Linked DNA regions of Homo sapiens: all the other regions are linked to region 4. Evidence: promoter capture Hi-C in 16 types of primary human blood cells and fetal thymus (Javierre and others, 2016). All regions are on one chromosome and are shown on one strand. Each heading gives the region's core, a stretch centred on a gene start or on the middle of the fragment in contact. The rest is flanking DNA. Distances are from core to core; before and after follow the strand shown. Region 1 overlaps PTPN12 (protein tyrosine phosphatase non-receptor type 12). Region 2 overlaps PTPN12 (protein tyrosine phosphatase non-receptor type 12). Region 3 overlaps PTPN12 (protein tyrosine phosphatase non-receptor type 12). Region 4 holds the start of FGL2 (fibrinogen like 2). Region 5 has its middle 24 kb from the start of PTPN12.

The links. Contacts are between HindIII fragments. The CHiCAGO score rates a contact against its expected background, and 5 or more counts as called.
Region 1: a contact is called between a fragment that was not itself captured here and the fragment with the promoter of FGL2 in region 4, in 1 of 17 cell types (monocytes). The highest score is 5.6, in monocytes.
Region 2: a fragment that was not itself captured here is called in contact with the fragment with the promoter of FGL2 in region 4 in 1 of 17 cell types (neutrophils); the score reaches 6.0 in neutrophils.
Region 3: a contact is called between a fragment that was not itself captured here and the fragment with the promoter of FGL2 in region 4, in 1 of 17 cell types (monocytes). The highest score is 5.4, in monocytes.
Region 5: a contact is called between a fragment that was not itself captured here and the fragment with the promoter of FGL2 in region 4, in 1 of 17 cell types (monocytes). The highest score is 5.2, in monocytes.

What each region holds. Positions count from the first base shown.
Region 1 is chr7:77,574,920-77,577,619 of GRCh38, reverse strand. The region is part of intron 2 of PTPN12 (protein tyrosine phosphatase non-receptor type 12); the gene reads right to left. Among named protein-coding and RNA genes, the nearest start is that of PTPN12, 39 kb to the right of the region's middle. The HindIII fragment of the contact is 3,824 bases long and covers 1-2,700 here.
Region 2 is chr7:77,552,547-77,555,246 of GRCh38, reverse strand. All of the region lies in intron 1 of PTPN12 (protein tyrosine phosphatase non-receptor type 12), which reads right to left. Among named protein-coding and RNA genes, the nearest start is that of PTPN12, 17 kb to the right of the region's middle. The HindIII fragment of the contact is 3,345 bases long and covers 1-2,700 here.
Region 3 is chr7:77,624,133-77,626,832 of GRCh38, reverse strand. It overlaps PTPN12 (protein tyrosine phosphatase non-receptor type 12), which reads right to left. Exons shown (of 18, transcript NM_002835.4): 13 at 1-128. Among named protein-coding and RNA genes, the nearest start is that of APTR, 71 kb to the left of the region's middle. The HindIII fragment of the contact is 4,744 bases long and covers 1-2,700 here.
Region 4 is chr7:77,198,400-77,201,099 of GRCh38, reverse strand. FGL2 (fibrinogen like 2) reads left to right here and starts at 1,281. Exons shown (of 2, transcript NM_006682.3): 1 at 1,281-1,919. The coding sequence starts at 1,307. The region is part of intron 2 of CCDC146 (coiled-coil domain containing 146); the gene reads right to left. RefSeq lists a silencer at 1,581-1,690. The HindIII fragment of the contact is 5,002 bases long and covers 1-2,700 here.
Region 5 is chr7:77,511,975-77,514,674 of GRCh38, reverse strand. No RefSeq gene overlaps it. Among named protein-coding and RNA genes, the nearest start is that of PTPN12, 24 kb to the left of the region's middle. The HindIII fragment of the contact is 2,366 bases long and covers 188-2,553 here.

The DNA.
Region 1 (2,700 bases), core at 27-2,526, 380 kb before region 4:
TAAATATTTATTGCATGTAATAAGCACAATAATGTTGTTCATATATCCATAGTAAAGTAGTAGCAAGGAAAGGGAGTAAGGAACATCTTGAGGATATCAGCAGTCTTCAGAGGTGTGACAAGCTGGGTCTCAGGGAATGAGAAGTTTGCCAATGATTAAAAAGAAAAAAAAAATAGGGCATTATAGGTAGCATAATAGGTTCAAAAGTATAGAATTAATAAAAAATAGCTACCATGGAATGAACGTTTCCTCTAAGCACATAATTTTATCCTCACCACACACCCATGGAGATAGAAGTTAATATCGCTATGCACAGACAGAGGTATGCCCAAATCACAAAACTGAGATGGCAGTGACACATTTGAAACTGGGGCTGCCTGATTTAAAAGCCAAGGCTCTGGGTCTAAATAATACATGTACTGAAGAGATATGAAGCAACATGGGACTACTGGAAGGAAGCGGTGAGCAACAAGGCTGAAAATGTAGCCGCCTGTTCTCACTCACTTGACCATAGAGCAAAGAAGGGGTGGGCTGGAATTGGAGTATGGAACAAATGCATGATTTCAAATAAATGAGTGTATATCCACCCCAGTTCTGTCCACTGAAAAGGCCTAAAAGCAATGACACACCAAACCCTGTTCAATTGTGGGGTCAGCCAGGCCTTCCAGGATTGCTCCCCGCCCTCCCAGCTGGCTTTTCTGCCACATTCCACTGCCACAGCAGACTGGGTGTCCTTCACCTGCCTGCATCTTCTGCAGTTTGTTAAGTGGCACCCTTAGCTCCTGTGACACCTTAGGGAGAAAGCCACAGCACCCATGATTTTGGGCCACCATTAACACCCGGCAAAGCGCCGGGAACTAGAAGTAGCGAGAAAGAACTTGGGTGGCTGTTTTAATATTCTTCATTGGTGCTCTTTTTTTTTTGAGACAGTGTCTGGCTCTGTCACCCAGGTTGGAGTGCAGTGGCACCATCTTGGCTCACTGCAACCTCTGCCTCCCAGGTTCAAGTGATTCTCGTGCCTCAGCCTCTCAAGTAGCTGGGACTACAGGCACGTGCCATCATGCCTAGCTAATTTTTGTATTTTTAGTAGAGGCGGGGTTTCACCGTATTGGCCAGGCTGGTCTTGATCTGATCTCAAGTGATCTGCCCGCTTCGGCCTCCCAAAGTCCTGGGATTACAGACATGAGTCACCTCGCCCTGCCAGATTGGTGCTCTTATTAAGCATATTTAGAAATAATCTAAATATCAAAAAAATGAAAACAATTATTCCTCTCCATGGTTTTGCTAGCTATCCAACCAAGAGAAACAAAACCATAGGTCCACACAGAGAGTTGTATGACATGTTCATAGCAGCATTATTCAATATGTTCATCATTCATACAATGGAATATTATTCAACAACAAAAAGGAATGAACTATCGATGCATGCTACATCGTGAATGAATCTTTAAAATGTGTTAACAAGAGGCTGGGCACAGTGGCTCAAGCCTGTAATCCCAGCACTTTGGGAGGCCGAGGCAGGCGGATCACGAGGTCAGGAGTTCGAGACCAGTCTGGCCAACATAGTGAAACCCTGTATCTACTAAAAATAACACAAAAAATTAGCCAGGCATGGTGATGTGCGCCTATAATCCCAGCTACTCAGGAGGCTGAGACAGGAGAATCTCATGAACCTGGGAGGCGGAGGTCGCAGTGAGCCGAGATCATGCCACTGCACTCCAGCCTGGGCAACAGAATGAGACTTCATCTCAAAAAAAAACTGTTAAAAGAGCTAGACACAAAAGACTATATATTGTATGATTACATTTATATTAAATTCACAGAAAAGGAAAATCTATACAGACAGAAAGCTGATTAACAGCTGCCCAGGGCTGAAGACTCAGATCTTTTAGGGGTGATGGAAATGTCCTAAAACTAGATTGTATTAATTGTTGCAAAACTCTATAAATTTACTTTAAAAAAATCATTGAATTGCACAATTAAAATGGATAAATTTCATGGGTATGTAAATTATACCTCAAACCTGTTTTAAAAATTCTATTTCTGCAAGCACTGCACATGTTAAAACATGCAAAGGAAGTTAGTGAATTAAATTCTTCTCCATCTTATTTTTTGAGACAGTCTCGCTCTGTTACCCAGGCTGGAGTGCAGTGGTGCAATCATAGTTCACTGCAGCCTTGACCTCCTGGTCTCAAGTGATCCTCCCACATCAGCCTACTGAGTAGCTGGGACCACAAGTGTACACACGAGAGAGAGAAAGAGAGAGTATGTGTGTGTGCGTGCGTGCGTGCGTGTGTGTGTTGAGTTTTGCTATGTTGCCCAGGCTGGTCTTGAACTCCTGAGCTCAAATAATCTGCCCAGCTTGGCCTCCTAAAGTGCTGGGATTACATGCATGAGCCACTGTGCCCGGGCAATGAATTAAATAGTTATCTAACAGTAAATAAGCACATATCTCTCAGTACAATTACTTTCAATATAAATTTCCAGGCCAGGTGCAGTGGCTCACACCAGTAATCCTAGTACTTTGGGAGGCTGAAGCGGGTGGATCACCTGAGGTCAGGAGTTTGAGACCAGCCTGGCCGACATGGTGAAACCCTGTCTCTACTAAAAATACCAAAAAATTAGCTGGGCATGGTGGCAGGTGCTTGTAATCCCAGCTACTTGGGAGGCTGAGGCACGAGAATTGCTTAAACCCGGGAG
Region 2 (2,700 bases), core at 165-2,664, 350 kb before region 4:
CACTTTCAAACTACAAAAAAAAAAAAAAGATAAACAAATCGTTTAAAAAGCCAGAGGAAAAAAAATCATCTTACCTAAAGAGGAGCAAGTATAATAAGAATTACATCTGACTCTGTTTCAGAAACTAGGCAAGCAAGAAGAGAGTGACAAAATATCATATTGAGAAGAAAAAACCCACCAACTTAGAATCCTGAACCTTGCAAAATTATCCTTCAAAAACCAAAGAGAAATAAAAACTTTCTCAACAAACAAAAATTAAGGCTGGGCAAGGTGGTTCATGCCTGTAGTCCTAATGCTTTGGGAGGCTGAGGTGGGTGGATGGTTTGAGCCCAGGAGTTCAAGACCAACCTGGGCAACACAGTGAGACCTCGTTTCTACAAAAACAGAAACAAAAAAAAACTTAAGTGAGTATGGCGGTGCATGCCTGTAGTCTCTGCTACTCCGGAGGCTAGGGCAAAAGGACTGGTTGAGCCCAGCAGGTCAAGGCTGCAGTGTGCCATGATCATGCCACCGCATTATAGCCTGGATGACAGACAGAGCAAGACCCTGTCCCCCAGAAAAGATTAAGAGAATCTGTTGCCACAGACCTACCTTGTGAGAAATGTTAAAATAAATTTTTTAGAGAGAAGACAAATTATTCTAGTCTGGAATTCACATCTACATAAAGAAAGGAAGAAGAAATGAGAGAAAGAATAAATGAAAGTAAAATTAAAACTTTTATTTTTCTTATTAATTGATCTGATACGTTTATTCAGAATAGCAGCAAACATGTATTTGGTTATATATGCTTGTGTGTGTATGTTTATTTGTAAGTGAGATAATGCCAGCAATGATACAAGGGATAGAATTAGGGTTACTTTGTCATTATAAAGTAATCTCACCATCCATAAAGTGGTACAGTGTTACCTGAAAATGGACTTGGATTTGCTGGAAATATACATTGCAAATGCCAGAGCAACCACTTAAAAAAGTGAAAACACCCAGCTGGGCACAGTGGCTCATGCCTATAATCCCAATACTTTGGGAAGCCAAGGCAGGAGGATTGCTTGAGGCCAGGAGTTTGACAGCCTGGGCAACATGGTAAGACCTTCTCTCTACAAAAAATAAAAAACATTACTTGAGGGTTGGTGGCACACACTTGTAGTCCTAGCTACTCAGGAGGCTGAGGCAGGAGGATCACGTGAGCCCAGAAGTTTGAGGTTACAGTGAGCTATGACATGCCACTGCATTCCAGCCTAAGCAACTAAGCGACACCTTGTCTCTTTAGAAAAGACCAAAAACAAAAAAAGTAAAAAAAAAAAGAAGTAAAACTGACATGCTAAGAAAGGACAGTCATATGATATTTTGAATTAAAACTGCAAAAGGCAGAAAAACAGTGGAAGACAAAAAAAAAAATAGGAACAAAGAACAATGACAACAGAAAATAGTGGCAAATATGGTAGACATTAATCCAATGCTATCAGTAATCACTCTGAACGTGAATGGTCTAAATGTACCAATTAAAAGATTGTCAGAGTGGATTAAAAACCAAGACCTAACTATATGCTGTCTACAAGAGATCCACTTTAAATATACAAACACACACAGATTAAAAGCAAATGGATGGAAAAAAATATATCAGCTAACACAAAAATAAAATGAGACTAGTTATTAATTTCAGATAAAGCAGATTTCATGGCAAGTAAAGTTATCAGGGATAGGGTGGCTTTACATCATGATAAAGGGGTCAGTTCTCCAAGAAGACAGCATAATCCTTAATCCATATGTGTCTAACAATTGTGCATAAAAATATGTGAGCCAAAACTGATAGAACTGCAAGGAGAAATATTTGAATCCACTATTATAGTTGAAGACTTCCGTACTCCTCTATCAGAAATGGACAGATCAAGCAAGCAGGAAATGAGTAAGGACACAGATGAACTTAACAGCATCATCAATCAACTGGATATATAATGCACGTCTATAGACTACCTAAGACAACAACTACAGAATACACATTCTTCTCAAGTTTACATGAAACATTCAACAAGACAGACCAAATTCTGGGCCATTAAACACACCTCAACAAATTTAAAACAGCAATCATACACAATGTCTGCTCTCAGACCATAATGGCACTCAAAAAATTTTGGATGTAGGGGCATTTTAAACTTCAGATTAGGGATGCTCAGCTCTGTATTTTCAGATAATTAAATATACTATACACATTCTTTCTGTCTCTGTCACCAAAAAGGTCCAAAAGAGAAAAAGAGCAAGGGGTGGCCTTTTTCCCCTCCTATTTATTTAACTTCTCACTTAATGCCCTAATCATGCTTCCTTCTGACACATCTGACACTGTGTCCTTTATTCTTACTAATTCAAACATTACAAACTATTTCTGTTTTAACGATAAAGAAGCTAAGATTGAGAGTGGTTCAAATCATGTACTCAACATTACATAGTAAGTAATGGCCAGGTCTAATACCTATATAACTGTTGTAAACCATATCATTGGACTGTCCACTATAATGCTAGACACTCAAATTCCTAACAAAGATATGTTACTTCCATCAGGTCTTTTCTTCCCTGCCTATTTTTACTTTTGTACATTCCTTCGTTTACACCCTCTTTAAATAATTTAAAGATTCCTGCCCAGTAGTATCACCAGATTACCTTTCCCTCTTTTATCTATAACCTGTTTTAAAGGCAAAATAATAATTT
Region 3 (2,700 bases), core at 129-2,628, 430 kb before region 4:
CATTGTCCTGCCACACAGTAGTGACTGTTGGAAAAGCTGAAGGGGGAGAAGGTGTCAAGATGGGTGGCACTGGATGAGGTTCCGGTGGCTGCAGTATTTCTTCTTTAGCATCCCCTTCAACAAGGCAACTGAAAAACAAACATTTAAAAAGGGCATTTTAAGACTGTTAAACAAGTTGATACCTGAGAATTATGTAGCTAAGAGTAGCATATTAAGAGCCATTACAATCTGGTTGCGAATAAAAACTGCAGTTTTTCAGACTAAGAAAATTTAATGTTCATCAAGGTAATACACATATACTGTTTAAAAAGTCAAATACAAGACTTTGAATGAAAAACATAGTCTCTGCCCCGCAGCCCTCCTGTTAGCCAGAGGCATCAACTTTCAACATTTTTTTATAGCTGCTTCTAAAATTTACACCTCTGTATTTCAGACTATTTCAAAAGTTATTTCTTGATCTTTGTTTCACACATTTTCTACTGACTTCCTACTGTGGAAGTGTCCTTCTCTATCTTTCCAATACTGTTATATTGTAATTTTTCATTACCTCAGTCGTATGACTGCAGATAGTATTCCCATCTATGACACCATGATTTCGTATCTTTTCTTCTATAGTGTCTTGTTTTCCCCTAATGACTGCCTTGGATTTCTGATGGCTTAGCTCTCTATGCATCATCAGTTACTCAGCTTTTCTTCTAACTTTCTTGCAGATTGGTATACCTCCTCTCAATAATGACAAGCACACATAGTAAGTATCAATACCACAGACATCCTTGTTAGTAACTTTTGGCCTCCTGCTCCAGTGTGGACTACTGGTTCCCTAGTCCATCACAGAGCTAATGTTCTCTCTGGTTTCAGATTCTCCTGTTTCCCAGGTCTCATTTTCCTCTTTCTGGGTATACTCCTTTGTTCGGGTGGGTTATACCCTCTAGTTGCCTTTATTTTTTTCCTTAAAGAAATAGGGGCCAGGCATGGTGGCTCACGCCTGTAATCCCAGCACTTTGGGAGGCCAAGGTGGGTGGATCAATTGAGCTCAGGAGTTTGAGACCAGCCTGAGCAACACAGTAAAACCCCATCTCTACTAATAATACAAAAATTTGCCAGGTGTGGTGGCACACACCTGCAGTCCCAGATACTTGGGAGGCTGAGGCAGGAGAATTGCTTGAGCCCAGGAGGTGGAGATGGCAGTGAGTTGAGATCACGCCACTGCACTCCAGTCTGGGCGACAGAGCAAGACTGTCTCCAAAAAAAAAAAAAAAAAAAAAAAGAGAGAGAGAGCGAGAGAGAGAGCGCGAGTGAGAGTGAGAGTGAGAGAGAGAGAGAGAGAGAGAGAGAGAGAGAGAGAGAGAGAGAGAGAGAGCGAGCAGCCTGGGCAATATGGCAAAACCCTGTGTCTTTAACAAATACAAAAAAATTAACTGGATGTGGCAATGCATGCTTGTAGTCCCAGCTACTAGGAAGGCTGAGGTAGGAGGATCACCTGAGCCTGGGGAGGTCAAGGCTGCAGGGAGCTCTGATCATGCCACTGCACTCCAGCCTGGGTGAAAGAATGAGATCCTGTCTCAAAAAAAAAAAAAAACCAAAGAAGAAGATAGGGTTTACTATGTTGCCCAGGCTTTGTTGCTTTTTAAGAACTTTATATGAAGCAAACTTCTTGAGGGCTTGTATATTTAAGTTTTTGTGTTCTGTTTTTCTTTTGAGATAGAGTCTTGTTCTGTCACCCAGGCTGGAGTGCAGTGGCACCATCTTGGCTCATTGGAACCTCTACCTCCTGGGTTCCAGCAATTCTTGTGCTTCAACCTCCTGAGTAGCTGGGACTACAGGCACATGCCACCACACCTGGCTAATTTTTGTATTTTTAGTAGAGATGGGGTTTTGCCATGTTGGCCAGGCTGGTCTCCAACTCCTGGCCTCAAGTGATTTGCCTGCCTCGGCCCCCGCAAAGTGCTGGGATTACAGGGGTGAGCCACTGGACCCCACCTCAGAGTTTTTGCTTTTTTTTCTCCCCCCAGGTGATCAACCTTTTTTTATCCAACCAGATAACTGGCAGTAATCACATGGTACACCAGGTTTCCCCTTAAAAGAGACTCTGTGGGCCAGGCATGGTGGCTCACGCCTGTAATCCTAGCACTTTGGGAGGCCAAGGCAGGCGGATCACAAGATCAGGAGTTTGAGACCAGCCTAACCAACATGGCAAAACCCCGTCTCTACTAAAAACACAAAACCCTAGTCAGGCATGGTAGCGTGCGCCTGTAATCCCAGCTACTCAGGAAGCTGAGTCAGGAGAATCACTTGAATTCGGGAGGCAGAGGTTGCAGTGAGCTGAGATCACGCCACTGCACTCCAGCCTAGGTGACAGAGCAAGACTCTGTCTCAAAATAAATAAAATAAATAAATAAAGACTCTGTGAAGTTCAGATTCTCTAGACACATTCCCACATTCCTAGGACATGAGAAGATAAATGAATATCTCCAGAATACTGATCATATTAAAATGACAGCAATACTCTCATAAGATATTCCTATATCTGTTCAAGTTTTACAAGTAGATTCTTTTTTTTTTTTTTGAGACAGGGTCCTGCTCTGCCACCTGGGCTGGAGTACAGTTGCACTATCTTGGCTCACTGCAACCTCTGCCTTCAGGGCTCAAGCCATCCTCCCAGTTTAGCCTCCCAAGCAGCTGGGACTACAGGTGTGCACT
Region 4 (2,700 bases), core at 32-2,531:
GAATAAATACAGTCATGGAAGAGTAAAGAGTCTGCCAACATTTTGAGAATGTGAATAGGATTTGGCTAAAATTAAGGGGATATACAGAAAAGTCATAGGAAATCAGGTTAAAGACATAAATATGAGATAGGCTACAGAGTGTTTTAAGTAATACAATAAAACATTTAGATTTTTGCCCATGTCAGTCATTTTGAAATTATTTTTAAAGCAAAAAAACCCTTTTTAAACAAGAAATCTTATGAGATGTCAATATGCAAAACAAATTAAAAGGAGGTGGTTTCTCTAACTGAAGCTGTTCCTCTTTCCTGCCTTCAGCCTCTGAAGAGAAAGTTAGAAAACTATTATCATTAATGCTACATGTTTTGAACAAGCTGATATACCAAGTGGCCCAGAGAGCAGGTAGAAGAACCAGCGTGGAGACAGAAAGCAAGAGGCCCGCCTGCCAGGGCTACCTGCAGAAAGAAAGGGCAAAGATGCTGTAGGCAAGAGAAGTTCAGGACAGACACTGGCATAGCTCAAAGATTCACATTTGAGCAGCTGTGGAAGATGACAGTACAATTACCAAAATGTCGAAGGGCAAAGGAGGCAGCTACTGGTTTTGATGAAAGACAATTATGTCCTTTTAAATGGGTCTTAGACATTTAGACATTAATATACACTATGCTACGGACAAAGGAATAGAAAGTAGCACTTTTTTCTCCACTAGTTTTCTTCTCTTTTTCAAGTAGATGAAGCAAAAGTCAACTGCAATAGTCAGAAAGCTGTACTTTGTTACACTTAGAAACTTCTAAAAGTGCTTAAGATTTCACCTGAAAGTCCAACATGAAGAAAATACAGGCTCCCCAATGCCCCATTCTAAGAAGGAAAAAGGACCATTTTCATTTTAGTAACGTTTCTGTTCTATAGACAGTTTGGATAACTAGCTCTTACTTTTTATCTTTAAAAACTGTTTTTCCAGTGAAGTTACGTATAATTATTTACTTCAAGCGTAAGTATACCAAATTACTTTAGAAATGCAAGACTTTTCTTATACTTCATAAAATACATTATGAAAGTGAATCTTGTTGGCTGTGTACATTTGACTATAATAATTTCAATGCATATTATTTCTATTGAGAGTAAGTTACAGTTTTTGGCAAACTGCGTTTGATGAGGGCTATCTCCTCTTCCTGTGCGTTTCTAAAACTTGTGATGCAAACGCTCCCACCCTTTCCTGGGAACACAGAAAGCCTGACTCAGGCAGCTGCCGCTATTAAAGCAGCTCCAGCCCTGCGCACTCCCTGCTGGGGTGAGCAGCACTGTAAAGATGAAGCTGGCTAACTGGTACTGGCTGAGCTCAGCTGTTCTTGCCACTTACGGTTTTTTGGTTGTGGCAAACAATGAAACAGAGGAAATTAAAGATGAAAGAGCAAAGGATGTCTGCCCAGTGAGACTAGAAAGCAGAGGGAAATGCGAAGAGGCAGGGGAGTGCCCCTACCAGGTAAGCCTGCCCCCCTTGACTATTCAGCTCCCGAAGCAATTCAGCAGGATCGAGGAGGTGTTCAAAGAAGTCCAAAACCTCAAGGAAATCGTAAATAGTCTAAAGAAATCTTGCCAAGACTGCAAGCTGCAGGCTGATGACAACGGAGACCCAGGCAGAAACGGACTGTTGTTACCCAGTACAGGAGCCCCGGGAGAGGTTGGTGATAACAGAGTTAGAGAATTAGAGAGTGAGGTTAACAAGCTGTCCTCTGAGCTAAAGAATGCCAAAGAGGAGATCAATGTACTTCATGGTCGCCTGGAGAAGCTGAATCTTGTAAATATGAACAACATAGAAAATTATGTTGACAGCAAAGTGGCAAATCTAACATTTGTTGTCAATAGTTTGGATGGCAAATGTTCAAAGTGTCCCAGCCAAGAACAAATACAGTCACGTCCAGGTATGTATAATAATGTTTTCTTATCATATGTTCATAAATGTTATACAGCTAGAGAGTATCTATAAACATTAACCTGAGTCAGTAAGTTAAATAGATGACAGATTAAGTCTTTTATTTATCAAGGTGCACAGGAAAAAATAAATATCTTCTCAAATATGACCACATAAATATGACCTAATTACAAAAATCATAGTTAGTTCTGTATCCACTGGAAGTCACTTTCAATTTTAAGATCTTATTTGTTAATGCCAGACCTACTTGCAAGCAGAAGTAGAGAGAATTTCTTGATGTTTTAGTGCATTTAACTTGTCTCTTCAATGAGGTGTTTGAAAACAATAAAGATAAGGCGATGTTCACAATTGTGCCTTGTTTGTTGGAAATCAGTTTTTCTTGTGATTGACTGACTGCCGCTTCTCATGGCTAAAGAGGTCTTTGAAAGATTTTAGCAAGTAATCTAGTTCTTAATCCCAAATATCTGGAGAAAATGGGAGAGTTTACAGATGGAATAAAAGCAGTTTCATATGTGTGCACAAATTTTTGCTTTGAGACCTAGTGGCACAAAAAATATTTTAAGGGGAGAGTTTTAGCATGCCACTAAGGGAAGGTATTCATATTTCTTTCTCTTTTACCTGAAGTTAGAATTCAAGCAGATAGAAGTAGAACCCATCCTCACCATCCAAATTACTTGAATTAACTTTAATAAATACATGTGAAATTCCACAGACTTAATCGCCTACTCCACCCACGAACTAACAGTGGTATTGACTCTCCAAACCTTGGC
Region 5 (2,700 bases), core at 121-2,620, 310 kb before region 4:
ACAAAAGGCTAGCTCTTTGAATTTTGTGAGATGTAGAAAGAAAGGGGAAAATGAAGGGAGAAAAAATGTGAATATCTCAAAATACCATCCTACCAGAATTATCAATATGTGATGAGTGCTTACTGTGTGCCAGATACTATACCAAATGCTTTACATATTTTTTCTCATTAAGTACTATTATCAAGCTTATTTTACAAACAAGATGATCAGATTTAGAGAGATTAAGTAAGTTGCCTGAAGTTTCACTGTTTCTAGATGGTAATGCTGAAATTCTACCAGGAATCTCTGACTCCCAGCTCCAACTTTTGACCATTAGCATGCAAGTTCTTTCCATGTGGTTGGGGAGGGAAGAAGGTTGGTCTAAGGGTGCTTTCCTTTGGCTTCATTTCTTCACATAAATGAGGATGCCAATCATACCTAAGACTTGTCTGTCATTAATACATTTCTGACAGTGGCTTCCACTTGGCAACACTTTGTAGGCGAGTGGACCTACTCTGTACACTTGAAATGTTGAAAACTGCACTTCTTCTAAAATACTGTTTGGATCAATCATTTCATTTAGTTAAGCAGGCCATCTGTCTATCCAGCATGTTTTCCAAGTGCCTGTGCGTAGGTACCACGTAAAATGCTGGGGACATCAAGATGAATTCAACACTCACCATGAGCTATGTGTGTGGTGTTTAGATGAAACAGACATAAAAGCTAATTACAGCAGTGAGATAAGTTGTATATCTAAACAGCATATGAATATGTGTTCTGGAATGCAGAAGAAAAGTACTAATTTCAGCTTAGGTATATCAAGGAAAACTTCTCAGAGGTAATAAGCCTTCAAGAATGAGTAGAAATTCACCAGTAGGACATTCTGGACAGAGGAAGAGGCATGGGCAAAAATGCTTGGCAATTTCAGAGAGGAGCACACAACTGAGAATAATTGGAGAGGATGATGTATGTTTATAGGAGCCAGATAATGAAGATACTTGTTCTACTATGCTAACAAGTTAAAATAATTAAAACTCTCACCCCACAGGAGGAATCTTGCCCACAAATATTCTTTGTTTGATGTAGGTTTTTTTTTCTTGAATTTGAATGTCTTTAAAAAGACGTACATTCTCTAGTCTTCTGTCTCCTCAGGCTCACCCCTCCATATTTAGGTTACCTAGCTATCCCTGCAGACATTTGAGCTTACTCCCCCTGCTGCAGCAATGGGGAGTCACGGAAGATTATCTTTGTTTATAGGAGCCAGATAATGAAGATACTTGTTCTACTATGCTAACAAGTTAAAATAATTAAAACTCTCACCCCACAGGAGGAATCTTGCCCACAAATATTCTTTGTTTGATGTAGGTTTTTTTTTCTTGAATTTGAATGTCTTTAAAAAGACGTACATTCTCTAGTCTTCTGTCTCCTCAGGCTCACCCCTCCATATTTAGGTTACCTAGCTATCCCTGCAGACATTTGAGCTTACTCCCCCTGCTGCAGCAATGGGGAGTCATGGAAGATTATCTTAAGGTGGAGTTAACATGAACGTATTTGCTCTTTCAGAGACCATTCTGGCTTACTGTGGAGGATAAATGGTGAGGCCAATTGGGAAGGGATGGTACAAGATATAGAAATGTCTTAGCTCGGGCTGCCTTAACCAAATGCCATAGCCTGGGTGGCTTAAACTCAGACATTTATTTTTCATTATTCTGGAAGCTGGAAAGTCCAAGATCAAGGCACAAGCAGATTCAATTCTTGGTGAGGGCTTTCTTCCTGGCTTGTAGATGGCCACCTTCTTACTGTATCCTTAAAGAGAGAAGGAGCTCTGGTTTCCCTTCCTCTTCTTATAAGGGCACTAATCCTATCATGGGGCCTCCACCCTCATGACTTCATCTAAACCTAATTACTTGCCAAAGGCCCCACCTCCTCATACCATCACAATGGGGGTTGGAGTTTCAGCATATGAATTTTGAGGGGAATACAAACATTCAAGCTATAAAAAGCGACTTACTGGGTGAAGAGGCTGAGAGGGAGGACTCATGATTCTCAGTTTCCCACTGAATGAACGGTGGTTCCATTAACTCCAAATGGATAGCACAAGAGGTTTTATTCTATATGTTTATATGAAGTTGTAAAATTTCTTAGGAAGGATTGTGGAGCAATTGCTAAAATCCACTTAATGTCTATTGGAAGTACCTAGATGAAGTTCACCAGGAGACCTTTCAAAAGTGTCTCAAATGTTCCTATAAATATTGTGACATATTTATGTCATAAATCAGGATACATGGTAGGACATGTTGGGCATTAATAACAGACATAATATTTAAAATGGGAACTGTTCTGAAAAATCAGGAGTGTATGGTCACTGGATATAAAAATTACTTTGTTGTCTCATCTAGGTTCTCTTTTATCAAAGGTCCCTCTGAATAAAAATACTATCGTTAGAATGTACATGTTTAAATAAACACGTCTCAAGTACAGCTAATCGATCTATGGGTATTTCCTCATTTTCATCTTCAATAATAATTTCAAACTCCCTACCATACTTTTCTACAGAGCTATTAATAGGAAGCTTCCATCAGCTAACTTGAGTTTCCTCTCATTTTCCCAGCTGACATTCACTGGAGGTATTAATGGGAAATATAATGTCTAAAAGACATAGGTAGTCTTCAAATTGGATACTCAGGCACTGAATAATCTTAACTTCATGAAAATCAGCTC